2 separate regions of the Homo sapiens genome follow, and region 2 is linked to region 1. Evidence: promoter capture Hi-C in human tissues and cell types (Jung and others, 2019). All regions are on one chromosome and are shown on one strand. The core of a region is centred on a gene start or on the middle of the fragment in contact, and the rest is flanking DNA. Distances in the headings are between cores, read along the strand shown.

Region 1 (6,001 bases), core at 2,356-4,855:
TAGTCAAAATGTAAAGCATATTTTTAAACCCATTCTTCCTCAGAAGAATAAGCCTAATTAGTGTGAAGAAAATAGAGTAGCAGCAAATTTATCCCAACAAAGGAAGTTAACTGGACCATAAACCAAACGGTGAAGGACAGCTTCTTGCCTTCCATTAAAAATTTTTTAAAATAAGAATTTTTTTTTCTTTTTTTCTATCTCTTCAGGAAATCAACTTATAAAAATAATGGGTCATGTGTGTACTTAAACCAGATGCCATTTCACTTAGGTGGTAAAACTGTACAGTTTGTTAGCTATGATGTTTTTAAAATAATTCTCATCCAGAATGAAAAGTGGAACAGCTCTTCTGCTTTTGAGAACATTCATTCCTCCCTTAAGGTTAGCAAACTGTGAAGAATCCTGAGACAGAAGTCAAAGAGACCAGAGAAGGAAAAGACTTGAAAGTTTCAAAGAAGAAAGAACCACAAGCAGCAAACTAGCTCAAGAAGCTTAACTACTTGAAGTGTCTGAGTCTGAATTTCAGAGTCAACAAGATAGCAGTGGAGGAGGGTTTGAAGATGTGTGACATGTTGCCTCCCATATATTAATAGCATTTAAGTAGCCAAATGGGCAAGAAATTCAGGGCAGGAGGTAAGGGGCAACCCGGAATGCTGCCAGCTTTGTTGTTGTTGTGAGTAGAGTTTGTTTACACAGATGACGCTACGAGGAGCCTCTGCTACTTAACATCTGTGTGAACCTTAGTATGAAACCTAAGCCTTATTATCCTTAAGTGTAAACTGGAACACGTATTAATTTTATATTGCTGCTGTAAAAGATTGCCACTGCCTTAGTGGCTTAAAAAAATAAAAACGTATTATCTAACAGTTCTGGAAATGAGAACTCTGAACCTGATTTCACTGGGCTAAAATCACATCAGCAGGACTGCAATTCTTCTGGAGACGCTAGGGGAGAATCCATTTCTTTGCCTTTCCCTGCTTCTAGAGGCTGCCTGAATTCCTTGGCTTTTGTCCCCCCTCCATCTTCAAAGCCAGCAAGGGCCAGTCGAGTCTTTCTCACATATCATTCTGACTCTCTCGCCTTCCTCTTTTGCTTATAAGGGCTCTCACAATTGTGGCTGGTACCCAGACAAACCGGAATATTCTCCCATCTCAAGTGGAGCCAATTAGCTGCTTTAATTGCATGTGCAGCCTCAATTCCCCCTAACATGTAGTATAACCTATTCATAAGTTTTGTGAATTAAGGCATGGATATCACTGGGACCGTTAATTCTGTCCACCGAAGACATAGAGTTCTTGTAAGAAATACATGAAATAACATAACGTGCTAAATGTTTACATACTAACTACAGAAAGCACTCAATTAACAATATTCACATATAAATACAGACAGCCGGGGCGTGGTAGCTCACGCCTGTAAATCCTAGCACTTTGGGAGGCTGAGGGGGGCAGATCACGAGGTGAGGAGATAGAGACCAGCCTGGCCAACACAGTGAAACCCCATCTCTACTAAAAATACAAAAATTAGCCAGGCACACCTGTAGTCCCAGCTACTCAAGAGGCTGAGGCAGGATAATCGCTTGAACCCAGGAGGCGGAGGTTGTGGTGAGCTGAGATCGTGCCACTGCACTCCAGCCTGGGCAACAGAGCAAGACTTCATCTCAAAAATAAATAAAAATGAATAAATAAATAAATAAATACTTACAGAGAAGGTGAATATGAGTCACTAAATCCAACCTAACTCAACAAATACAAAGTATCAAGGATGTATACAATGGCTGGATTTTCTTTTTAGGTATGTAAATGTGCATTCCTATTTATGCCCACTGCATTTAAAACTCATTTATATATCCTTTGTAATTCAGGTTCAGTCATTTCATAAATTGAAAGCATTCATTACACATTGGCTTCCATGAGATCATTGTTTCAGCAGTGAGACAATCAGTGCTTGCTAAGGAAAATTATTGTCTTGCTACAGTTAGCAAAAAGACACAGTTATTAAGGCAAGCAGGGCACGTCCTCAAAGAGAAGTTGCAGACATAGAAACATCAAGTGCGAACCTCTAAAGGAACACTGGGAGCTCCACCGCTTTCCATTATGCTCTATTCAGTTCTGAGATCTAAATTGCTGCTGATTTTTCGTCTTTTAATCACTTCACAGAAGTTAAGTGTCCTTGGGAGGCACTACAGAGGGTAGCACAAATCTCATCTCATTGATTCTAAATTAATTTGATCTTTTAACTCCCAGCTACCGAGTTTCCTGGGCTTTTTAAAAATATTATTTTATGGTGACTTTTATTTTCTTTTTCACAAATAAAACATGAATAGTAGAAGCTGTGTTTCTTCAGCAAAATTGCACTTAATTCTTATTTCCACTCAAGTAGAAATAGAAAACTTTGACCAGATGCAAGATTATTTTCACTATAATACAAATGGAATTAATTTTGTTTAACATAAGGATTTTGTCTAACACTATTCAAGACATCAGTGTACCCCTTCAAGGAGTATCAACTGCCACCTGTTATACCTTTTAACCTGGAGACTATGAGCATTAATTTTTTAAAATGTATTTGGAGAAATTAACTTTCACAGGAAGGGAAAAGGATGGATGGCTTAGCTTCTTCAAATCAATACTATAAATCTGCCCAATGAATAATAAAATAAGAGTTAATGCTTTATTGAAGTTGAAAAGGATCACAAGTATTACCTTTGTTATCCAGATATTTTTTAAAAATCTTAACTAACACTGGAACTCATACATATTGCTAGTCAGAATGATGGTGTTCAAATAATAGATCTTATAAATTCGATGGCCATGAGAAGTGTTTACAATCTTAAGAAAACGTTATAGGTTTAGACTAATTACATAAAATGAGAAAATACTGTCAATTATATAAACTTTGAAATATCTAGTTCTATACTTAATTCTTATAAGTAAGACTAGAAAATAAAAAAGTTAAATAGGAATAAATTTCACAGTCAGAATAGTAGGAATTATCTTTTTTTCCTTGTCAAATTGAAATGAGAATTCTCCTAGAGAATATTAAGTATTAATTATCCCATTAAGCGTAGTAGGACCAACTCTTGGTAGGGAGTAGAAGATCTGCTAGAAAAAGGAACCTGATAGCTGGTGGAACATGTGGCCTCTCTAAATCTTTGTTTTCTTTCATCTTTAGAAATATTTCAATGTATCTGAAGCTCTAAGAGTTCGTAAAGATCCTCATTTTACAGAGAAAAAATACTTAAGACCTAGAGTACTGAAATGACTTCAAGTAGACCAAGCAGGATTTACACATCTATGTTCTTTCCATTCTTCAGCACTGTCAATAAGATTCCCAATGTCCCTATCAACCCTGAAATACCCCCAATTTTCATAGCTGGGGTAAGAACCGCTGAAAACAATGGTAGGTGAATAAGAGCATCAAAGTATTTCCCACTCACTTGGTATACTGTGAAGTGGAGGAGGAGGCACATTGTTAATAGCTGTCATGTGAGACAAAATAGCTGCTGGAAGAGAAGACATCGGCATCTTGATGGCTCAAAGGCAGATAGATGACCAGAGGCTGCTTGAGAGGCAAATGATCACTCTTTGCCTGCAGGCTCATAAAGCAGAACTTCAAGGTCCTCTCTGATAGGTTGAATCCTACGGAATCTTCTTGTTCATAGTTCTTATCCATTGTTTGTGCATTTCCAAGAGTGTCATCTAGACCAGGAAGAACTATGCTACATTTTAGTCCAGTGGAAATCATAAGGAGGACTTTATGAGCTATAGAGAGTAGCAATAATGAAGAAGGAAACTGTAGCCCACAAGGCTGATACAGCAGAATCAACAGCACTCATGAGTCTAGGTGAAATGAAAGTATTCACTTCCTTGGTCTTCCATAGTCCAGAGCCCTTTTCCTGCCTACCAAATGTTTACACTGGGTATCACAGGCCCTTTCTGTACCAGCAGTAACAGAGATAGCATATTTATACTGTTCTTCATGGCCACATTTATAGGGTAAACCATCCCTTCTAATTATCATACACCAATAAACCCACCCCAGCTTACATTTAACTATATTCTGCTAGAGTGTGGAACATGTTTTTTTGTTATTTTCTGCTGCTTCACAATAATTAAGGATAGTTACAATGGCTAGGGTTTACAATCCTAACTAATGTATCTTTTGATGCTGTGTATTATCTTCCAAGGCCTTTAGAAATAGGGTCCTGGTATCATAACTGTTAGAGTGATACGGACAGGAGACAGGGAAACACTGGGTAGAAGAGGGCAGTTCCCCAGTAAAGGCCCCACCCTCAAGCCTGGAGACCTGCGGCCCTAGATTGGGACAGGCATTCCTGTTTTTGCACCTAAAAAGTTGCCTTTTGGCCTGCAACACACCCTATCCTGTACCCATATAAACCCTGAATCCCAGGCTCCAGAAGCAGACGAAGAGATGAGACAAATAGATGAATGGCAGAATGACAGGCAGAGAAAGTGAGAAAAGGAGGAACATCTGAACACTGAGAGGAGTTCAGCCACTGTACGGCCAAACTCCAGGGGAAGATCATTTTCCCACTCCATCCCCCTTCCAGCTCCCCATCCATCCTGCTGAGAGCCACCTCCACCACTCAATAAAACCCTGAGTTCTTCCTTCAAGCCCATGTGTGACCCAGTACTTCTGGGATGCTGGGCAAGAATTCAGGATACAGAAAGCTATCACACTGGCCCTCTACCCTTGTGAAAAGGCAGAGGGTCCATTGAGCTTGTTAACATCAAGCCATCCATGGAGGGTAGGGCTACAAGGGCACACTGCAACACAATGCCCACTTGGGCTCCTGCACCTGTCCGTCTGTGTGCTCCCCCTCCCCACAGGGTTTGAGCAGCAGCGATGACCAACCAAGCAGGCAAACCACAGCCCTGTCACACATTCTGTGAGGGGAATCAGGGAACTCCCCCATTTCATCAGGTAATATACAAAAGGACTGTGGCTGTCTGATACCTGAACTGGACTAGCAGAGTGTAAACCAACCATTTCTGGAGCAACTTCATCTAGATAACATTAATAACTAGAATAGAAAACATTAATTATGTTACAAAAGTAACAAATTTATTTTGCAACAGTTTCTATTAAATTATATCTGCACAATAAATTTACTCAGGTTATAACTTTTCAATTGAATGTATTTTCCTATTTCCAGTTTTACAAACTCCAAACTCACCATAGACTCAATTTTGTTGTTGAGTCTCATCACTATTGTTTTTTTTTTTTCTGGAGACCAAGTCTCACTCTGTCACCCAGGCTGGAGTGCAGTGGCTCAATTCTGACTCATTCCAACCTCCACCTCCCGGGTTCAAGTGATTCTCCTGCCTCAGCCTCCCGGGTAGCTGGGATTACAGGCAGGTGCCACCACGCCCAGCTGATTTTGTATATTTAGTAGAGACACGGTTTCACCATGTTAGCCAGGCTGATCTTGAACTCCCGACCTCTGGTGATCTGCCTGCCTTGGTCTCCCAAAGTGCTAGGATTACAGGCATGAACCACCACACCCGGCCACATCACTATTCTTCATCTTGCATTCCTTCCACACTAGCCACCTGCCTAGCTCCCACTTCAGAATGGTTCCTTGCCATTCCAACTGTCCCCTTGTTGGTAATCCCTACTGCCATCATTCCACAGGTTTTCTAGATCCATTCTCTTCCTAGTCGCACATTTAAAACCCAAAGAAATGAAGACGTGAATTTTTCATGGATGTTAAGCAGAAGGGACTATATAAAATGCTTTTTTTCTCTGACGAACAGTTCTAATCAAACAAATGTAAGAGAGGAAGTTTCCTAAGGCCCTAAAATTGTGATGACCGATTTCCTCTCTGATTCCAAGTTAGCAGTTCTTATTTTTATTTATTTTCTAGTTATCTTCCTGCTTTTCCATATTTTCACCTTTCTCTTTTCTGTATTTCATATGTAATAAACTTTACACACTGAATGCCATATAATATCGTAGTTCATATCAACCTGGACCTTGC
Region 2 (6,001 bases), core at 2,215-4,714, 550 kb before region 1:
TATGCTCTCAGAGTTCCTTTAGTAATTCTGGAGAGAACAACGACTACAGGGAAAACTAATGCCACATACACTAAAGCAGGTGCAGAATGCAGAAATCAATGTACATGTGGTAAAGCACCTTTGGGGATACACTCAGATCCTTGTGATACAGCAATGAGTTCCAGCTACTGCTCACATTTCTTGCCATCTGCAGAAATGGCACTGAGCAGGTCCCCCTTCATTTTGGCTATCTTGCTGCCAGAAGAAACATATCTGCAGCATCCAGCCACCCATTTCTCTCAGGGCTGAGGGGAATAACAGTTCCAGGTCAGACCTGTAAGTCATTTAAGGAAATCCTGCCTGTGAAGCTCTGTGTTTATCATAAGATGGATTCTCCATTCAAACAACATACCTCAAGCAGCTTGCAAAATAGCATAAAAAATAATGTATACTAAATTGTAAAAAAAATCCTTTTTAAATAACAAGTTTTTTACTTTAGTTTTCAAGTCACACCAGTAATTTTGAAACAAACTAAAAGTTATAAAGAAAAATACATAACAAGGATAACCAGTAATGTTTAATTAATTAACAGTTGTGGTAATAGTACAAGAAGATATATTGTTATTATATGTTACATGATATAAGTTGTAGCATTAGCATATGCCAACCAACCCCTACTTTCTTAACCTTCCACCCACATATATCCAGTACATATTAATTTCTTTTTTTATTTATTATTATACTTTAAGTTTTAGGGTACATGTGCACAATGTGCAGGTTTGTTACATATGTATACATGTGCCATGTTGGTGTGCTGCACCCATTAACTTGTCATTTAGCATTAGGTATATCTCCTAATGCTATCCCTCCCACCTCTCCCCACCCCACAACAGTCCCTGGAGTGTGATGTTCCCCTTCCTGTGTCCATGGGTTCTCATTGTTCAATTCCCACCTATGAGTGAGAACATGTGGTGTTTGGTTTTTTGTCCTTGCGATAGTTTGCTGAGAATGATGATTTCCAGTTTCATCCATGTCCCTACAAAGGACATGAACTCTTCATTTTTTATGGCTGCATAGTATTCCATGGTGTATATGTGCCACATTTTCTTAATCCAGTCTATCATTGTTGGACATTTGGGTTGGTTCCAAGTCTTTGCTATTGTGAATAGTGCCGCAATAAACATATGTGTGCATGTGTCTTTATAGTATCATGATTTATAATCCTTTGGGTATATACCCAGTAATGGGATGGCTGGGTCAAATGGTATTTCTAGCTCTAGATCCCTGAGGAATCGCCACACTGACTTCCACAATGGTTGAACTAGTTTACAGTCCCACCAACAGTGTAAAAGTGTTCCTATTTCTCCACATCCTCTCCAGCACCTGTTGTTTCCTGACTTTTTAATGATTGCCATTCTAACTGGTGTGAGATGGTATCTCATTGTGGTTTTGATTTGCATTTCTCTGATGGCCAGTGATGATGAGCATTTTTTCATGTGTTTTTTGGCTGCATAAATGTCTTCTTTTGAGAAGTGTCTGTTCATATCCTTCACCCACTTTTTGATGGGGTTGCTTGTTTTTTTCTTGTAAATTTGTTTGAGTTCATTGTAGATTCTGGATATTAGCCCTTTGTCAGATGAGTAGGTTCTAAGTGTGTACACTGTAGATGCCTTAAGATAGAATAGCAATAAATAAAACCAAACAAACAAAAAAGAAGAATTTGGAACACTTGGTAAATATAATAATATCTTAAGCATTTTTGCCTTCAGTGGCTAAGCTCTTTAGGCTCACCAATTAAACTTCAAGGGATTTAATTGAGTCATAGTATTAAATCTACCAAGGTAAATACCTGAAGCAAAATGACACTAGGTGTTAAAAGTTAAACAATATTTTAAGTGGATGAAGACTTGAATCATTTTAAAACACAACTATAGAAATTTAAAGTAGTAAGTGTGAAAAAATAGAATCTTGGGACCCCAAAACTCACTATGCAAAAGGGAAAGTTAAGCTTGGAAAATGAGTCACACAATACTGCCTTCCTTTTGTTCCCAGATAGCTGTAATTTCACAACCCTGTGTCATAGCCTCATCCACAAGCCACGTTCCCACAAGGATATAAGGCCGCATATCTCCTCACATGGTCTCTCTCACAAATCGTTCACTAGGTACAATTGAGAGCCCCTTGTGAGCCCCTAAATCTTTTAGAATACATACCCTCCTATATTCTAGACCTAAACCCGAGTTCTGTTGTATCTCGCCCTGAAGATATCAATTACTAGCTTATCTTCACAGGTACAGGACAAGGACAGGACCAGAAATCATCCCTCCACCTACCCTGAGACAAATTCATAATTGACTTTTTCTCTATTCCTTCTTTTCGCATGTTTACCTTGTCTTATATAAGAGCCTCACAAGAATGTAATCATTTACATCACTGCCTAACCTACCTCCCTCTTTTCTCCTCTTCTTGATGTTTCCCCTTTAAATACTGAAGTTCCTCAAATCTTCTTCGGAAAAGTACATGTCACAGAGGCTCCTGTGACTATGTTTTTCCTGGATGAGTCCTCAAACTTTAGCTAAATAAACATCTATCAATTGAGACACCTGTCTCAGCCACTTTTTGCTTAACACAAGAAACACAAATGTGAAAACATAGTGTCTATTAGCATAGTGAAGTTCCTATTTCTCTTGGTGATTTTTCTTGGTGAAATTTAGCCTCATGTGCATTCGGGAAATAATTATTTGAACAGGGACCATGTGGGTGAGTGTCTTTCAAAAGCATGAACACATAGGCATGTTTTAATAAAATCACTTGCACATGATAGGCACATTTCTTTTATTCTGACATTTGAGAAGCAAATCCTGGTCATATCGAGTAACCAGAAGTGATATATTGACATAGTATTACTGTTCTGTTTTTGTTAATTTTATATTTTGCTTTGAGTACAGATGTCATTTCATCTTAGTTTTAACATTTAGAAGGAAAACACATACCAAAACACATGATATATCAAGGATTTGGATGTTAGATGATGATGGAGATTACATACATAAATGATTAGCATTTTCCAAGTTTGCCTTAAGCAGACAAAATGAAGGAGAACAGCATCTTAATTTGAAGTGAAAAATGAAAAAAACTCAGGTTCCTTAATTTTTTTCTAAACACTTTAGCATTATAAATCTGAGATACTAAGTAATTCCTGATTATCAAAAAAGGGTATTTGTGCCCCAAAAGCACTAATGAATGTCAAGGTAATCCCTAGAAAATTTCATTCAGTTGTAGTAATAAGAAAAACAAAAAAAGCTATGTCAAACACTTCTCCCGTACAAGCAAAACTTTTTTAAACAAATTGCTTACTGTTTAAACAATAATATTGTTTAGGTTTCTATTCCCTTCATGGTCACTTATTATATTATTATTGAAAAATGATATCAGAATGTCACTAAGATGGCATTTATCATATCAATATTATTGTTGTCTTAATGAAAAAATACAATGAACTTACATGAACCCTTTCAGTACATAACTTGGTGGTGAAAATTTACAAAACATCAATGGGTGTAATACAATTATTATAGTAATGGTTGTAAAAAAAAAAAATCTAAAAAAGCCCAACACATGTCTTATGCCAGAAAAGACTACAAAACTGTCAATAAATGGATATACATAAAACTTCAATAAATTTAATTTTAATAAGTGACATCATTAACTGTACTTAACATATTTCCAAGAAATGGCTTAATTGGTTGGATATGAATCAACAACTTTTGGCAATAATACAATGTTTGGAGGATAATGTAGAATGAGTTTTTAAAAATATGTGTGAATGAAATATATATATATATATATATATATATATATGATATAGCTAGGTTAATCCTGCCTATGAAATGCTTGGGCAAAGCTATAGAAAGCAAAAAAGTGGACTTTTGTGGTGAATCACAAGTTAAACATAGGGTTGTAAGAAATCCTGTTGTTTATTCACTCTGTAAATATGTTTAGCTTCAACTATATGCCAGAAATGAGGATAAATAAAACACAGCCTCTGACCTTGGATGGCTATACACTCTATTCTTAGAGACAGGTAAGTAAAGCAATAATGAAATGAAATATGAAAAATGCAAGCATACTTGTATTTCTGGAGTTATTGCTGGTTTTGTTCCAGACCCCCAAGTATCATAATAAAGCGAGTCACACAAATTTTGGTTTCCCAAAGCATATAAAAGTTATGTTTAAACAATACTGCAGTGTATAGACTATTAAGTGCAATAGCAGTATATCTAAAAAATGTACATACACCAATTAAAAAATACTTTCTTGCTAAAAAAATGCTAACAATCATCCGAGCTTTCAGTGAGTCATAATCTTTTTGCAGATGGAGGGTCTTTCCTTGATGTGAACAGCTGCAGATTTATCAGGGTGGTAGTTGCTAATAGTTGGGGTGGCTGTGGCAGTTTCTCAAAATACGACAACAATGCAACAATGAAATTTGCTCATCAGCTGACTCTTCCTTTCACAAAAGATTCCTCTGTAGCAGCAATGCTGTTTGATGGCATTTTACCCACAGTAGAACTTCTTTTAAAACTGCAGTCAATCCTCCCAAATCCTGTCAGTCAATCCTCTCAAATCCTGTCATTGCTTCACTAAGTTTATGTAATATTCTAAATTTTTTGTTGTGATTTCAACAATGTTCACATCATCTTCACCAGGAGGTGATGTATCTCAAGAAACCACTTTCTTTGCTTATTTATAAGAAGCATCACCTCATGCATTCAAATTTTATTATGAAATTGCAGCAATTTAGTTACTCCTGTTAATGTTGACATATCAGCCTCCTCCCATGAATCACCACATTCTTAATGGCATCCAGAATAGTAAATTCTTTATAGAAGATTTTCATTTGCTTTGCTCAGAACCATCAGAGGAATCACTATCTATGGGAGCTATATCCTAATGAAATGTATTTTTTAAATAATATGACTTGAAAATCGAAATTACTTTTCAATCCTTGGGCTATAGAATAAATGTTGTGGTAGCAGGCATGTGGATCTCCATCAGAGCTCTTGGTTGACTATGTGCATTGTAAATGAATCTTTTCTTCTGAGCAGTAGGTCTCAATTCTGGGCTTAAAATATTCAGTGAACCATGCTATAAACAGATGGGCTGTCATCCAGGCTTTTATGTTCCATTTATGTAGTACAGGAAGAATAAATTTAACTTAATTCTTTTTTTTTTTGAAACAGAGTCTCGCTCTGTCACCCAGGCTGGAGTGCAGTGGCACTATCTCGGCTCACTACAACCTCCCTCTCCTGGGTTCAAGCGATTCTCCTGCCTCAGCCTCCTGAGTAGCTGGGACTACAGGTACACACCACCACACCAGGCTAATTTTTTCTATTTTAGTAGAGATGGGGTTTCACTGTGTTGCACAGGCTGGTCTGGAATTCCTGAGATCTGGCAATCCTCCCGCTTCAGCCTCCCAAAGTGCTAGGATTACAGGCATGAGCCACCACACCCAGCCAAATTAATTCCTTAGCTTAATTCTTAAGCCCCTGGGTTTTCAGAGTGGTAAATGAGGATTAGCTTCAACTTGAAGTCATCAGCTTTATTAGGCCCTAACAGGAGAGTCTGCCTATTATTTGAAGCTTTGAAACCAGGCATTGACTTCTCTTCTCCTGCTATGAAAGTTGAAGATGGCATATGCTTCCAAAATTGGGCTGTTTTGTCTATTGTTTACTGTAGCTATTTTAATCAAAGATCTTAGTTATATCTCCTGGATAATTTGCTGCAGCATCTACATCAGCACTTGCTGCTTCACCTTACAGTTTTATGTTATGGAGATGGCTTCTTTCCTTAAAGCTCATGAACAAACCTCTGTTAGCTTTCAAATTTCTGCAGCTTCCTCATCTCTCAGCCTTTATAGAATTGAACAGTTAGGACCTTGCTCTAGATGCTGAGGCTTGAGGGAGTGTTGTGGCTTATTTGATCTTCTATTCAGACCACTAAAGCTTTCTCTGTATCAGCA

Evidence for each region. Contacts are between HindIII fragments. The study calls those that stand out against the background at their distance.
Region 2: a fragment that was not itself captured here is called in contact with the fragment with the promoter of CNBD1 in region 1 in 2 of the 25 tissues and cell types used here (H1 embryonic stem cells and mesenchymal stem cells).

Annotation. Positions count from the first base shown.
Region 1 is chr8:86,864,019-86,870,019 of GRCh38, reverse strand. CNBD1 (cyclic nucleotide binding domain containing 1) reads right to left here and starts at 3,605. Exons shown (of 11, transcript NM_173538.3): 1 at 3,437-3,605. The coding sequence starts at 3,524. The HindIII fragment of the contact is 15,353 bases long and covers 1-6,001 here.
Region 2 is chr8:87,409,237-87,415,237 of GRCh38, reverse strand. It overlaps a transcript of CNBD1 not described here. Among named protein-coding and RNA genes, the nearest start is that of DCAF4L2, 460 kb to the left of the region's middle. The HindIII fragment of the contact is 5,338 bases long and covers 796-6,001 here.